Regions from separate parts of the Homo sapiens genome. Here regions 1, 3 and 4 are each linked to region 2. Evidence: promoter capture Hi-C in 16 types of primary human blood cells and fetal thymus (Javierre and others, 2016). All regions are on one chromosome and are shown on one strand. The core of a region is centred on a gene start or on the middle of the fragment in contact, and the rest is flanking DNA. Distances in the headings are between cores, read along the strand shown.

The links. The method cuts DNA at HindIII sites, captures the fragments that hold promoters and counts their contacts. A CHiCAGO score of 5 or more calls a contact.
Region 1: a contact is called between the fragment with the promoter of FOXO3 here and the fragment with the promoter of ARMC2-AS1 in region 2, in 17 of 17 cell types (activated CD4 T cells, naive CD8 T cells, non-activated CD4 T cells and 14 more). The highest score is 28.1, in activated CD4 T cells.
Region 3: a contact is called between a fragment that was not itself captured here and the fragment with the promoter of ARMC2-AS1 in region 2, in 6 of 17 cell types (activated CD4 T cells, total CD8 T cells, monocytes and 3 more). The highest score is 6.7, in activated CD4 T cells.
Region 4: a contact is called between a fragment that was not itself captured here and the fragment with the promoter of ARMC2-AS1 in region 2, in 1 of 17 cell types (M1 macrophages). The highest score is 5.2, in M1 macrophages.

Annotation. Positions count from the first base shown.
Region 1 is chr6:108,559,601-108,562,971 of GRCh38, forward strand. It overlaps FOXO3 (forkhead box O3), which reads left to right and starts at 1,317. Exons shown (of 3, transcript NM_001455.4): 1 at 1,317-2,229. The coding sequence starts at 1,609. RefSeq lists silencers at 1-41, 82-151, 1,131-1,350 and enhancers at 1,794-2,294, 3,106-3,371. The HindIII fragment of the contact is 5,662 bases long and covers 1-2,438 here.
Region 2 is chr6:108,922,827-108,925,834 of GRCh38, forward strand. It overlaps ARMC2-AS1 (ARMC2 antisense RNA 1), which reads right to left and starts at 1,277. Exons shown (of 3, transcript NR_104137.1): 1 at 1,235-1,277; 2 at 149-218. The region is part of intron 10 of ARMC2 (armadillo repeat containing 2); the gene reads left to right. The HindIII fragment of the contact is 2,206 bases long and covers 517-2,722 here.
Region 3 is chr6:108,539,924-108,542,870 of GRCh38, forward strand. No RefSeq gene overlaps it. Among named protein-coding and RNA genes, the nearest start is that of FOXO3, 20 kb to the right of the region's middle. The HindIII fragment of the contact is 6,005 bases long and covers 1-2,947 here.
Region 4 is chr6:108,519,705-108,522,680 of GRCh38, forward strand. AFG1L (AFG1 like ATPase) reads left to right here. Exons shown (of 13, transcript NM_145315.5): 12 at 1-106; 13 at 2,593-2,976. The coding sequence ends at 2,721. Among named protein-coding and RNA genes, the nearest start is that of FOXO3, 40 kb to the right of the region's middle. The HindIII fragment of the contact is 3,033 bases long and covers 29-2,976 here.

The DNA.
Region 1 (3,371 bases), core at 67-2,566, 360 kb before region 2:
CGGCGCGCGCCCGGACACCCACGCCCGCAGCCCCGCGGAGCCGGGCCGCGCAGGCGCGCGCGAGCTCACACACGCGCACTCACACACGCACGCCCGCCGCGCGCCCGGCCCGCCGCCCAGCCCGCCGCCCAGCCCTCCCCCTGGGCGGGGACCCGCCCGCCGTCAGCCTAGGTTGAGGCGCCCTGCGTGTGTCTATAACTTTGTGCTGCTGCCGCGGCCGCCCTGCTCGTGGAAGGGAGGAGGAGGAATGTGGAAGGTGGCGGCGCGCGAGCTGACAGGCGGTTCCTCGGGCGGGCTGCGGCGACGGCCCGAGCGCTTCTCCTTCGCCGAGGTTGCGCGCCCCCTCCTCGCCGTGCCCCGGGCCCGCGCGGGATCGTGCGTCGTCCCGCCGCGTCCCTGAAGGGAAGGAAGCGAGGTAGGCGCCGGAGCCGTGCAGCGGGCGGCCGCCTTCCCGGTGACTCCGGATCTGCTTCCGAGCTGGGCCGGGCGCTTCCCTTTCCCCTCCCTGAGCCGCGGTGTGCGCGCCCCCCTTCTCGCCCGCTAGTGTTTTTAAAGGACTCGGGAAGGGGGAAACTGTCAAGATGGCAGCAGCGGGAGCAAGGAGGTGATGAACGTGCTGGTCCGGGTTTTCTAGCAGCCCGGGAGACTTGGCGCTTCCCGACCTGTTGGAAGATTTATGTTCCGACTCGCTCCCTCCCCCGGATCCCGACTGGGAAGGGGGCGGAGGGGACGACGTCCGCGAGAATGCAAACCACACAAAACCCCGAAGTGGCCGTCCCCGCCGGGCTCGAACCTCTGCGAACACCCGCTGGGCTGCTGCTCCCCCTTCTTTCTGTCTTTCCTTTATTTTTTGGAAGTGACAAGGGCCCATCTGCGCCCAGACCCCCGTTCGCCCTCTGGCCCGCGGGCGAAGAGGGGAGAGGGAGCTGCCCGCGCAGTCCCCGGGCTCGGGCCATTCGACCGGGTGGGGGGTGACGGGGGGTCGCGGAGGCGGCCAGGCTAGGAAAGGGGAGAAGAGCCGAAGACAGCACAGACTTGAGCGGCGGCGCCGCGGGAGGCACTAGAGCGGGCCCGAGCGAAACATAAACAAACGCACGCACACCCGAGCTCGGGCTCTGACCGCGGCTCGGCTGCGCCAGCTCCGGCCGCTGCCCGCTTTAAAGGCGCGGCCGCCCCTCCCCCGGGCGCCCCTCCCCCTTCTCCCCGCCCCGCCGCCTAGCCCGGGAGGGACCTGCGGCTGGGCGGCGGGGGGAGGGGGCTGCCCCGCGCGAGGCCGTCGATTCGCTCGCGGCTCCATCGCGGCCTGGCCGGGGGGCGGTGTCTGCTGCGCCAGGTTCGCTGGCCGCACGTCTTCAGGTCCTCCTGTTCCTGGGAGGCGGGCGCGGCAGGACTGGGAGGTGGCGGCAGCGGGCGAGGACTCGCCGAGGACGGGGCTCCGGCCCGGGATAACCAACTCTCCTTCTCTCTTCTTTGGTGCTTCCCCAGGCGGCGGCGGCGGCGCCCGGGAGCCGGAGCCTTCGCGGCGTCCACGTCCCTCCCCCGCTGCACCCCGCCCCGGCGCGAGAGGAGAGCGCGAGAGCCCCAGCCGCGGGCGGGCGGGCGGCGAAGATGGCAGAGGCACCGGCTTCCCCGGCCCCGCTCTCTCCGCTCGAAGTGGAGCTGGACCCGGAGTTCGAGCCCCAGAGCCGTCCGCGATCCTGTACGTGGCCCCTGCAAAGGCCGGAGCTCCAAGCGAGCCCTGCCAAGCCCTCGGGGGAGACGGCCGCCGACTCCATGATCCCCGAGGAGGAGGACGATGAAGACGACGAGGACGGCGGGGGACGGGCCGGCTCGGCCATGGCGATCGGCGGCGGCGGCGGGAGCGGCACGCTGGGCTCCGGGCTGCTCCTTGAGGACTCGGCCCGGGTGCTGGCACCCGGAGGGCAAGACCCCGGGTCTGGGCCAGCCACCGCGGCGGGCGGGCTGAGCGGGGGTACACAGGCGCTGCTGCAGCCTCAGCAACCGCTGCCACCGCCGCAGCCGGGGGCGGCTGGGGGCTCCGGGCAGCCGAGGAAATGTTCGTCGCGGCGGAACGCCTGGGGAAACCTGTCCTACGCGGACCTGATCACCCGCGCCATCGAGAGCTCCCCGGACAAACGGCTCACTCTGTCCCAGATCTACGAGTGGATGGTGCGTTGCGTGCCCTACTTCAAGGATAAGGGCGACAGCAACAGCTCTGCCGGCTGGAAGGTGCGTACCCACCCCGGGCTGGCAGCAGGACCCGCCGGGCCTCCTGCGCAGCGCGAGACGCGTCTCGGATTCGTCGGAGTGCGCTTGCGGGCTCCAGGGCAAGGGGTTGGCAGGGGGAGCCTCCGCTGCGAGGCTTTGGGGGTTATCTTTGATCCCCGGAGTCGGGGCACCTGGGGACGGTCTCGGAGGGGTGAATGAGGCTCCCCAGAAGCTTGGGGCATGGCCAGGTGAGGAGAGGGGGCAGGGGACGCCGGCGAGGGAAGGGCGAACGGACAGGAGTACATTTGCTGGATTCTCCGGACAGCACCGAGGAGGTAGGTCCGCAGCCAACTTTGGAGTAGAGTTTACCGTAGTGGGGGTCTGGTGCGGGCGCTGTGGCTGGAGTGAGAGGTGTGGGGGTGTTTGGGACGCAGTGTCTGGAGGAGGGGTTGGATGTGTGGTTTCCAGTCTGTCGCAGGAGCATGTTGCGTCGTCACTAGCTGAATGAGAACCTTCGGGTCCAAGTTTCAGCTTGTGGGTGTTAACACCTACAGGCACATCGATCCGATTAGAAAAAGCAGTGGTTGCAAACCTTTTCCTGGACGGCTTCCTTTCCTTGCCTATATTGATACCTTTTCTTCTCGGAGATGTCGCTCCAGTAAACCTGCTTCTGACTAGCTGCTTCTGAAATGTTCTGGGGCCTCGAACCGGCCGGTCTGGCCACCTCAATCCAGACTGGCTGCACCCGCTGCTCCCGCCGAGGCCTGGATTCAGGCACTGTTTGAGGGAAGGGCTCTGGTGTGGGGGACGCGGGGCCTGCGCTTCATTCACTCTGGCGTTTGGGAGGAGGTTTGGGGGCTGGGCCGGGCCGTAATGGCTTCTACCTGTAAATGAACCCGAAGAGAGACTCTCTACCGTTCCTTATCATCCTCTTGGGGCACGGGACACGTGGTAGGGAGAGAGGTGTGGAAAGGCCTATGATGTAATGACTTCCTGCAGTTGGGTATCCAAAGAGATTAACTCCTCTGCCCCTGCTGGGCTGCTGATATCCAGCTGCTTTCCTCTTCCTAGGCACCTCCCTGGCCCCTTCCCCCAAGACAGTGTGTGTCAGTACCAGGCCAAAGAGTCCTGTGCGATTGGAGATATACATCTCTTATCAGCTG
Region 2 (3,008 bases), core at 27-2,526:
GTTGTCAAGTGTAGCTCAGTCATTTTTCAGTAGTAGATTGGTAACCAGAAGCAAAATGGAATGTTTCTTCCTGGGTATTTACCAAAACCTTAGGTCCCCTTTTGTCCTAAACATCACCTAACAATTGCTAATAAGCAAGGAAACTTACATTTGTATTAGTCCTCTTTGTGGATTATCAGTGTCATTTTCTTCTCTTTTTTCTTCTTCCTATGGGCTGCCTTCAGGATTGCAAGTCCCACAGGATTGCAAGTTAAGAGATGGGGGAAAAGATAGGAATTAAAACTTGTGTTTTTCAGTGTGCTATTTCTTGGTGAAATGCTACTTAAGAGGTTGAGAATTTCTCTACTAAGTCCTTTAGAGACTAAACAAGACTTTTTTTAAGTAAGGGATTTGAGGTGGTTTGAAAGATTATATACAATAAAAAAGAAAAATGTGTGTTTAAGTTTGTGCATTTATAGATAATATAAATTAGAATAGAAAGTTAAGAAAGAAATGGATGCACACCTCCAAGCATGAAGCTTGGGCTTTGGTTAACTCCTGCTTTGGGGGAGGGCCCAGTGGGTGGGCTTTTCTTGAGGGTGGGAAATAAAGACCCTGCTGTAGAGCACAGAACTCATTGATAATTTTCACAGATTTATCTCTGTTCAACTGAGAGTTCTTGTTTTCTTTTTTTTAATTTTCACTTGTATATAATGAATTCAAAAGTAGGAGCAAAATTCAGTTAAATGGGTTGACTTGGAACTTGCCTTTACTGTGACCACATGATTTAGCTAGACTCTCCTCCCCACACCCTTTTTTTTTTTTTTTTCCTGCATTTTTTCCAGAAAAGGCCACTGGTCTGAGCATTCAGGGCCCCACCATCATCCCACAGTGAGATTGGTGGCTCTCAGAGGTTGGTGACAAGTCTCTCAAGATACAGGGCCTTCAGAGCTGCATCTGCGTGGTGGCCTTTTCCTGATCCTTCTCCCTCAGGGTTTTAGGCCCTGGTTCACCCAGGCCTCTGCTAAGCTCCCGCACTTTCTTGCCAGAGGTGTCTTAAAGGGAAAAACCTCTCTTTTGTCGCTCCTGTCCCTTCTTTCTTTCTTCCCCCTCCTCATTCCCCTCCTCCTTCCCCTTCTCATTCACTCTTCCAGCCCTCCAGTAGCTGAACATTTAAGAGCTTTTTATGAGCACATTTGTTGTCCTCTGAATAGAAAGAGGAATAAGAAGTGGTTTGTACCCTAGAGGAGCTCACCATGGGAGAGAAGATGCCTGAAGACAAGTGACAATGCTTCTGTGATGGGGGTTGTAGAGGCAGGAACAGGATGCTTTGGTAACACGGAAGAGGAAGGAGAGGAAGTGACTGATCAGCCTCGGAAAGGACTTCACAGAGAAGTTATCTTGAGCTGGGTTTTGAAAAATGAGCAGGAGGCCGGGCGCGGTGGATCATGTCTGTGATCCCAGCACTTTGGGAGGCCGAGGCGGGCGGATCACTTGAGGTCAGGAGTTCAAGACCAGCCTGGCCAACATGGCAAAACCCTGTCTCTACTAAAAATACAAAAATTAGCAGGGTGTGGTGGTGCTTGCCTGTAATCCCAGCTACTCGGGAGGCTGAGGCAGGAGAATCGCTTGAACCCAGGAGGCGGAGGTTGCAGTGAGCCGAGATCGAGACTCTGTCTCGAAAAAGAAAAAAGAAAAAAATGAGCAGGAGATGGCCCGGGGGAGAAGGGGTGGCAAAGTGTAATCGAGGGCACTCTGGGCGGAGGAAGCCGCCTATTCAAAGGCATGGCGTCATGAAGGGTTGAGGACCTCATGTGGTGCAGAGTCTGAAAGATGGCCAGGGTGGTGCCGAGGCAAAGGAGATGAGTTTGGAGGGATAAACCACACTTCAGAGACTGAGGAACCTTTAGGCTATGGGTGCTACTGGCTGGGCCGGAAGTCGCAGGAGGCCTTTGAGCAGGGAAGGCGGAGCTTTGAGATGCCCCCTCTGGCAGCAGTGAGCAGCTATGGGGGCAAACTGTGGAAGGAGCCCATCCAGGGGGCTGTAGAGTTTGGGTAAGAGATGAAGTGAGCTTAAACTGAACCAGTGACGCTGGTGATGGAGAGAAGGGGTGAACGTGTGACCAGTCAGGTGGGGAAAGGGGTGGGGCCCGGGAGTTTAGGAGCTTGGGAAGGAGCTGCTGTCAGAAATGAGATAGGCTAGAGAACAAATACACAGAGGCTGGTCCCCTTCCAGAGAGTTCATTTTTCTTTCATCCGTTATTTTTTATTCTGTGATGGATGGGGGTTATAGAGGCAGGAACAGGATGCTTTGTTAACACGGAAGAGGAAGCGACTGATCGGCCTCTGAAAGGTCTTAAACATAGACAAGTTAGCCTGAGCTGGGTAACTACAGAGTCCATTTTTCTTTCATCCATTATTTTTTACTCCTCTGCTTTCAAAAAAAATCTTAAAATCTGTCTACCTCAGAGATATTGTCTGCTTAGCCCATGGTGTTCTGATATCCCAGTCTTTCCTTTGTAGATGTCCACCCCTTCATTCATTCCATTAATAAATGCCTATTGAGCGCCCACCATGTACCAGGCACTGGACTTGGAGCTGGATGTACAATGGTGAAAAGGATGAACAAGGTTTATGCCTTCACTGAAGCGTCTAGTCTGGAGGAGTAGACAGATAGTAAACCATAATATTAAATAACCTAGCATTAAGTAGAGTTTATGGGGGCATATATGGTATGAGATGAAGCTTGACGGGTTGAGAAGGAACAGATCTGTTGAGCCTTGTAGACCATGGTCAGGGAACTGAATATTATCCTGGGAGCTATGGACAAAAAGCCAATATGGCTTGGAGTAACAGAAAGCAGAAAGGCAGGATTCTGGGATATCTCTGCTTGAGCAACTAGGTTGATGGTGTCATCTATTGAGCTATTGCTGTGTATTTTTCAAATGTATGGTATATGTTTCATGCATGTTATTTCTACCAGCACCACAAATGACAAATTTGGAAATACGTGAGGTATTGTATATTAC
Region 3 (2,947 bases), core at 82-2,581, 380 kb before region 2:
AGCAATATATAAAAATAATTATACACCATCATCAAGAACAGTGTATTTCAGGATGCAGGGCTGGTCCAATCTAAGACCCAGATGAAGGCAAGGATGTCTATTCTCTTAACTGTTATTCAGTATAGTAGAGTTGAGGTCCTAGCTTGTGCAATAAGGCAAGAAAACACAAACAGATCAGAAAGAAAGAACAAAAATAAAAAACCTATCCCTATTTGCAAGTGCTATTATTGTCTATGTAGGAAATTGAAAAAAGTCTACAAAAAGTTTCTAAAACTAATAAATTCAGCAAAGTCATAGGATACAAGATAGACATACAAAAGTTAAGTGTCTTTCTATATATTGACAATGAATACATGGATACTCAACTTAAAAATATGATACCATTTACAATTGCCAAAAATAGAAAAAGAAAAAGTACTTTGGTCCAAATCTAACAAAACATGTACATGATTCGTATGCTGAAAACTATAAAATACTAATCATAAAAGATCTAAATGAATGGAAAGACATACTTATATTTATAGATTAGAAGACTTGGCTGGGCATCTGTAATCCTGTAATCTCAGTACTATGGGGAGCTGAGGCAGGAGGATCACTTGAGCCCAGGAGTTCAAGACCAGCCTGCACAACATACAGAGACCTCCATTTCTACAAAAAAAAATATATTTTTTAAATTAGCTGGGCATGGTGGCATGTGCCTGTATTCCCAGCTGCTCTGGAGGCTGAGGTAGGAGGATTCCTCGAGCCTGGGAGGTCAAGGCTGCAGTGAGCTGTTATTGTGCCACTGCACTCCAGCCTGGGCAACAGAACAAGTCCTTGCCTCAAAAAATAAAATAAAATAATTTAAAAAATAGAATAGAAGACTCAATATAGCAGAGATGACAATTCCAAAATTGATATATAAAATTAATGCAATTCCTATCAAAATCCCAGCAAGATTGTTTATATATCTGGACAAGATTATTATAAAATTTACATAGTTGGGAGGCCAAGGTGGGAGGATCATTTGAAGCCAGGAGTTTGAGACTAGCTTGGACAACTTAGTAAGACCCCCATCTCTACAAAATTTTTTTTTAAAATTAGTCTACCATATTGGCACATGCCTGCAGTCCCAGCTCCTCGGGAGGCTGAGGGAGGAGGATCACTTGAGCCTGGGTGTTTGAGGCTGCGCTGAGCTATAATCATGAAGCTGTACTTCAGCCTGAGTAACAGAGCAAGATGCCATCTTAAAAGAAAAATAAAAATTATATAGAAAAGCAAACAAAAAGCTAAAAAAGGTAAAACTATTGAAAAATAAAAATAAAGTGAGAGTAATCACTCTACCCAATTTTAAGACTTATAACTATAGTAATCAAGACTGTGTGGTTTTGGTGAAGGGATGGTCACAGAGATTAATGGAGCAGAATAGAGAACTGGAAAATAGACCTACACAGATATGTCCAACTGATTTTTAGAAAGTTGTAAAAGCAGTTCAATAGGAGAAGGATAGGCTTTTCAACAAGTGGTGCTGGGACAACTGGATAAACATAGCTATCAACAAAAAGTAAACAAATCTCTACCTGGAACTCATATCTCATACAGAATTTAACTTAAAAATCAATCACATACTTAAATGTAAAGTGTAATTGTTGAGGAAAAAATAGAAGAATATATTCAGGATCTATGACTAGGCAAAGAGTTCTTAGACTTGACATTTAAAACACAACCCATACAAGGAAAAACTGATTAATTGGACTTTATCAAAATGAAAAAGTGCCCTGTGAAAGACTGCTGTGTGTTGAAACAGTACCTTGCTTTTCACGATAATAAAATACCGTCTAAAATGAATGTTGATAAACTACTCTAGAGCAGTGGATCTTTTAAGTGCCCACTTTGCAGACCAACCCTTAGCGCAGTGTCCAACAGCCAGTATAGGCACTCCACAAAATGTCAATGCAACTGAATGGCTTGTCTCCACCACACGCTGACGGTTCTCTGTAGCTGAATGGAGGGTGAGGGGACCTAAGGAAGAACATACAATGAAAGCCACAGGTACATGCCTTTTACATTTTCTCTCCTCCTTTTCCTCCTCTTTCTCCTCCCTCTCCCTCCTTCTCTCTTTTCCCTTTCCTCTCTCCCCTCTCCCTTTATCTTCACCTTTCTCCCTTTCCTCCTTCCCTCATCAAACCTCAGAAGATCACGGAGCATGGGAGTTTGAAGTAAGGAGTACAGGAAATGAAGATTGAAATTTGCATGTATGCTCAGCTCACAGCCACCAGATGGCGGGAGGAGATCAGGAAATTCAGGCAAAGCCCTTCTGCTCCAACTTAAAGAAACCACAACCAGCCAGCACCTGGCCAGCTTGCTTTTCTGGGTAAGTGACTATGTACAGAAATACTTTTTGTTTTCCATAACTCTCTGTAAAGCAATACCAGGTGCTGGCCAAAGCAAGTAGATGCTGTGTAATTTGATAGTGAATGTACCCATAGGAAGGGACAGTGTGTTTCTGCTTCTCCTTCCCTCTGCCTTTTCTTTCTGCATCTGCAAAATAGGGGTTCTGGTTGTGACCTGCCTCACTGTGATAAGTCCGCTGAGAGATAAAATGAGCAAAGTGCCCTGTGTGCCACAGATGACAGATGTTTTTCTAGGAAGAATGGCATCAGTGCACCATGTGTGTCTGACCACCACCACCCACAAGGAACACATGAAGTGCCCTGGTACTGTGGTAGCTGTGAACCTTGGGGTGATCTCTAAACATGCTTCCAATCCTGATGTCATTCTTTAGCTAAGTAAGACAATGACACCCACTGAGTTACACTCACCAGAAAAAGTTGCCCCATGACAGGTACCAGAGTCAACGGAGAAAGATATTTTCTTGGTAAGAATGGTTCTGGGAGGGACAGATTTGGAGCCAGGAGCTGTAGGTGAGATTTCAGCCTTGCTCTAACCAAGTCTGACCCTCCAGCCT
Region 4 (2,976 bases), core at 295-2,794, 400 kb before region 2:
AATTTGCTCTGCGTCGACTCCTATATCAAGCTTATTTTTGCATCAACATCATGACAGTGAGTTGGAGCAAAGCAGAATACTGATGGATGATTTGGGGCTGAGCCAGGTAGGCGATATTAACATAATCTCTTTTTATTATAAAACAGCTTAATTGTTTTTGGTTTGATGCATGGCTACATTTTGAAGAAGAAATGCAGTGTATAGTTAACCATTGATTGGCGCTTCTTCTATAAGCCCATGTAGCAAATTTATCATTCTCAATATCACTGAATATAGAAAATTATAAACTTACAGTGGAAGGAACCTTAGTGGTCATGTAGTTCAGTGCTCCATTTTGCATGTGATAAAAATGAAGCCCACGGAGGTGGACTAAGGTGCCCACAGTCACACTGCTGAATAATGGCAGGCCAGAGCTGGATGCCAAACCACCTGTGCCCGGTTCTGGGCTTGCTCTGCTATACCATGCTGCCCTTTCTGGGTATCTTTCTAAATGATTGCTGGATTTGTAGAGTGCATGATACAGTATCCAAGCATGTAGGCTGGCTAGTCCAGGACCATGGAGTGCCTAGCAAGGCCCCAGGCTTGAAAAGAAATCCCTAACTAATCTCTCAACCTCCATTCTGCAAACATTTATGGAGTACCTGTGGGTGCCAGGCTCTGAGGACACTCTGTAGGGAACAAACAGATGCTAGTCCAGTTCTCCTGGAGCTTGGAGTCTGGTGATTCACCCCAGGCCAACTAGAAGTGACTTTGCGTTTTCTTCTTCTATAAGAACGTTATGAGATGTGTTTCTCAACTATCGACAACTGAAATATTAGTCAAAAGTTTACAACTATCAACACTCACCCCATGAGGGGAGCCCAATTCTTCCAGCCCCACAGGTGAAAGACCTCTGGAACAAGGAAACAATTCCTTATCAACCTGAATAGAAATGAGGCATTTTCAGGAGTTTGGGAGAACGAGGCCAATTTAAAAAGTGAACTTTCCAATATGATGACTTAAACCTATGTGTATGTCTTAGTCTGCTATAACAAAACACCATGAACTGGGTAGCTTACAGACAACAGAAATTTATTTCTAACAGTTCTGGAGGCTGGGAAGTCCAAGATCAGGGTGCCAGATTTGGCATCTGATGAAGGCCCACTTCCTAGTTCCTAAGCCTCTGTCTTTTCTGTATAAACCTCACATGGTGGAAGGGGTGAGGGATCTCTCTGGGGCATGTTTTATAAAGGCATTAATCCCATTCATGAGGGCTCCACCCACAAGACCTAATCATCTCCCAAAAGCTCCGCCTCCAATACCATCACCTTATGGGTTAGGATTTCAGCATATGAATTTTGGATGTACATAAACATTCAGCTCTAACCTAGAACAGTTTCATCCTGAAACCATCCCCCTGCCCCTGGTCCATGGAAAAATTGTCTTCCACGAAACTGGCCCCTGGTGCCAAAAGGTTGGTAAAGTTTACATCATTGGCTCTTAAAACTTTTTTCCCCTAGGCTGGTGCAATGGGTCATTCCTACAATCCTAGCACTTTGGGAGGCCGAGGTGGGCAGACTGCTTTGAGCTCAGGAGTTCAAGACCAGCCTGGGCAACATGGTGAAACACCCATTTCTACAAAAAATAAAAAATAAAATAAAAAAAATTAGCTGGGTGTGGTGGCACACACCTGTAATCCTAGCTACTGGGGAGGCTGAGGCAGGAAGATCACTTGAACCCAAAAGGCAGAGGTTGCAGTGAGGCAAGATGGCACCACTGCACTCCAGCCTGGGTGACAGAGTGAGACCCTATCTCAAATTCCCCTAGGATCAAGAAAAAATAAGCTCAGCAGACAGAGCCAATCATGCATGAAGAAATCAGGGAATGTGATCTCAGGGTCATGAAGGTTCACAATGGATCAGTGGAGAAGATGGACTTAGGAATCTAGAATTTTTCTCTGAAAAAGCATACTAGCAAACCCCTAAGGAAAGAGAAAAATTCCAAGCCCACTTAGTGGCCATGAGTCTGTGTTGGTATCACCAGTCTGGGGTTACCAGCCTCACAGAGACAGAGTTTCCCAATTTGGTCCTAGATGGTGGGATCAGTTGTCCCAGCAGCTGAAGACTAAAAACAGCCCTGCCTTTCAGCCCTGGCTTTTAGATCCCAGGCACATTCTCCAGAACCCAGACCCACTGCTCATTTGCATTTGCTCTCCTTTAGTCATTGGTTGGATTGGAAAACGCTCTCCAGAGGTTTGTCCTTAGGGCCTCCCCCTTAGGCACTGGGACCCTGTCTGGAGGCCTACACCAGCCTCTTTCTAGCTTCTCAGAACTACTGGTTTTTTTTTTGCCATTACTTATTTCTGGTGTACACTTTTGGAGAAAGTTTTCCCTTTTAAGTTTTCTCTCTGATAATTTGATGTGTTTACTGCCTATCAGTTTAAATTGGTTGACTCTCTAGTCTCATTTAAGAGATTGTATATGGAAAAAAAAAGTTATAAAAAAAGGCATAATCTAAACCGGTAAGCCTAAAAAGTTTTTTTAAACCTATACTTAGGTTCTGTAAATTTTCATTTGTGATAGCTTTATTTTAATTTCTTTGTTTTATAACCAGGATTCAGCAGAAGGACTCTCCATGTTTACCGGAGAAGAGGAAATCTTTGCATTTCAGCGCACAATTTCCCGACTCACGGAAATGCAGACTGAACAGTACTGGAATGAAGGAGACAGAACCAAGAAGTAACTGCCACTTTTGCATAAATAAAACTCTAGACAAATGGTTAACGCAGGCAGAACTCCTTATTGTGGGACTTGAAGGAATCATTTTCTCATCATTAATTATGCACTTTGTCCTCTGGACCATTTTAATCTAAAATTGCTCTCAAGGATCTAGTGGATTAGTAAGTTAAACACTTAACATTTTTTAGGTCTGCTTTTTCTTATTTGGCCTTATTTCTGCACCATGAAATTAAAATCATCTCATTCCTGAAGATGAATG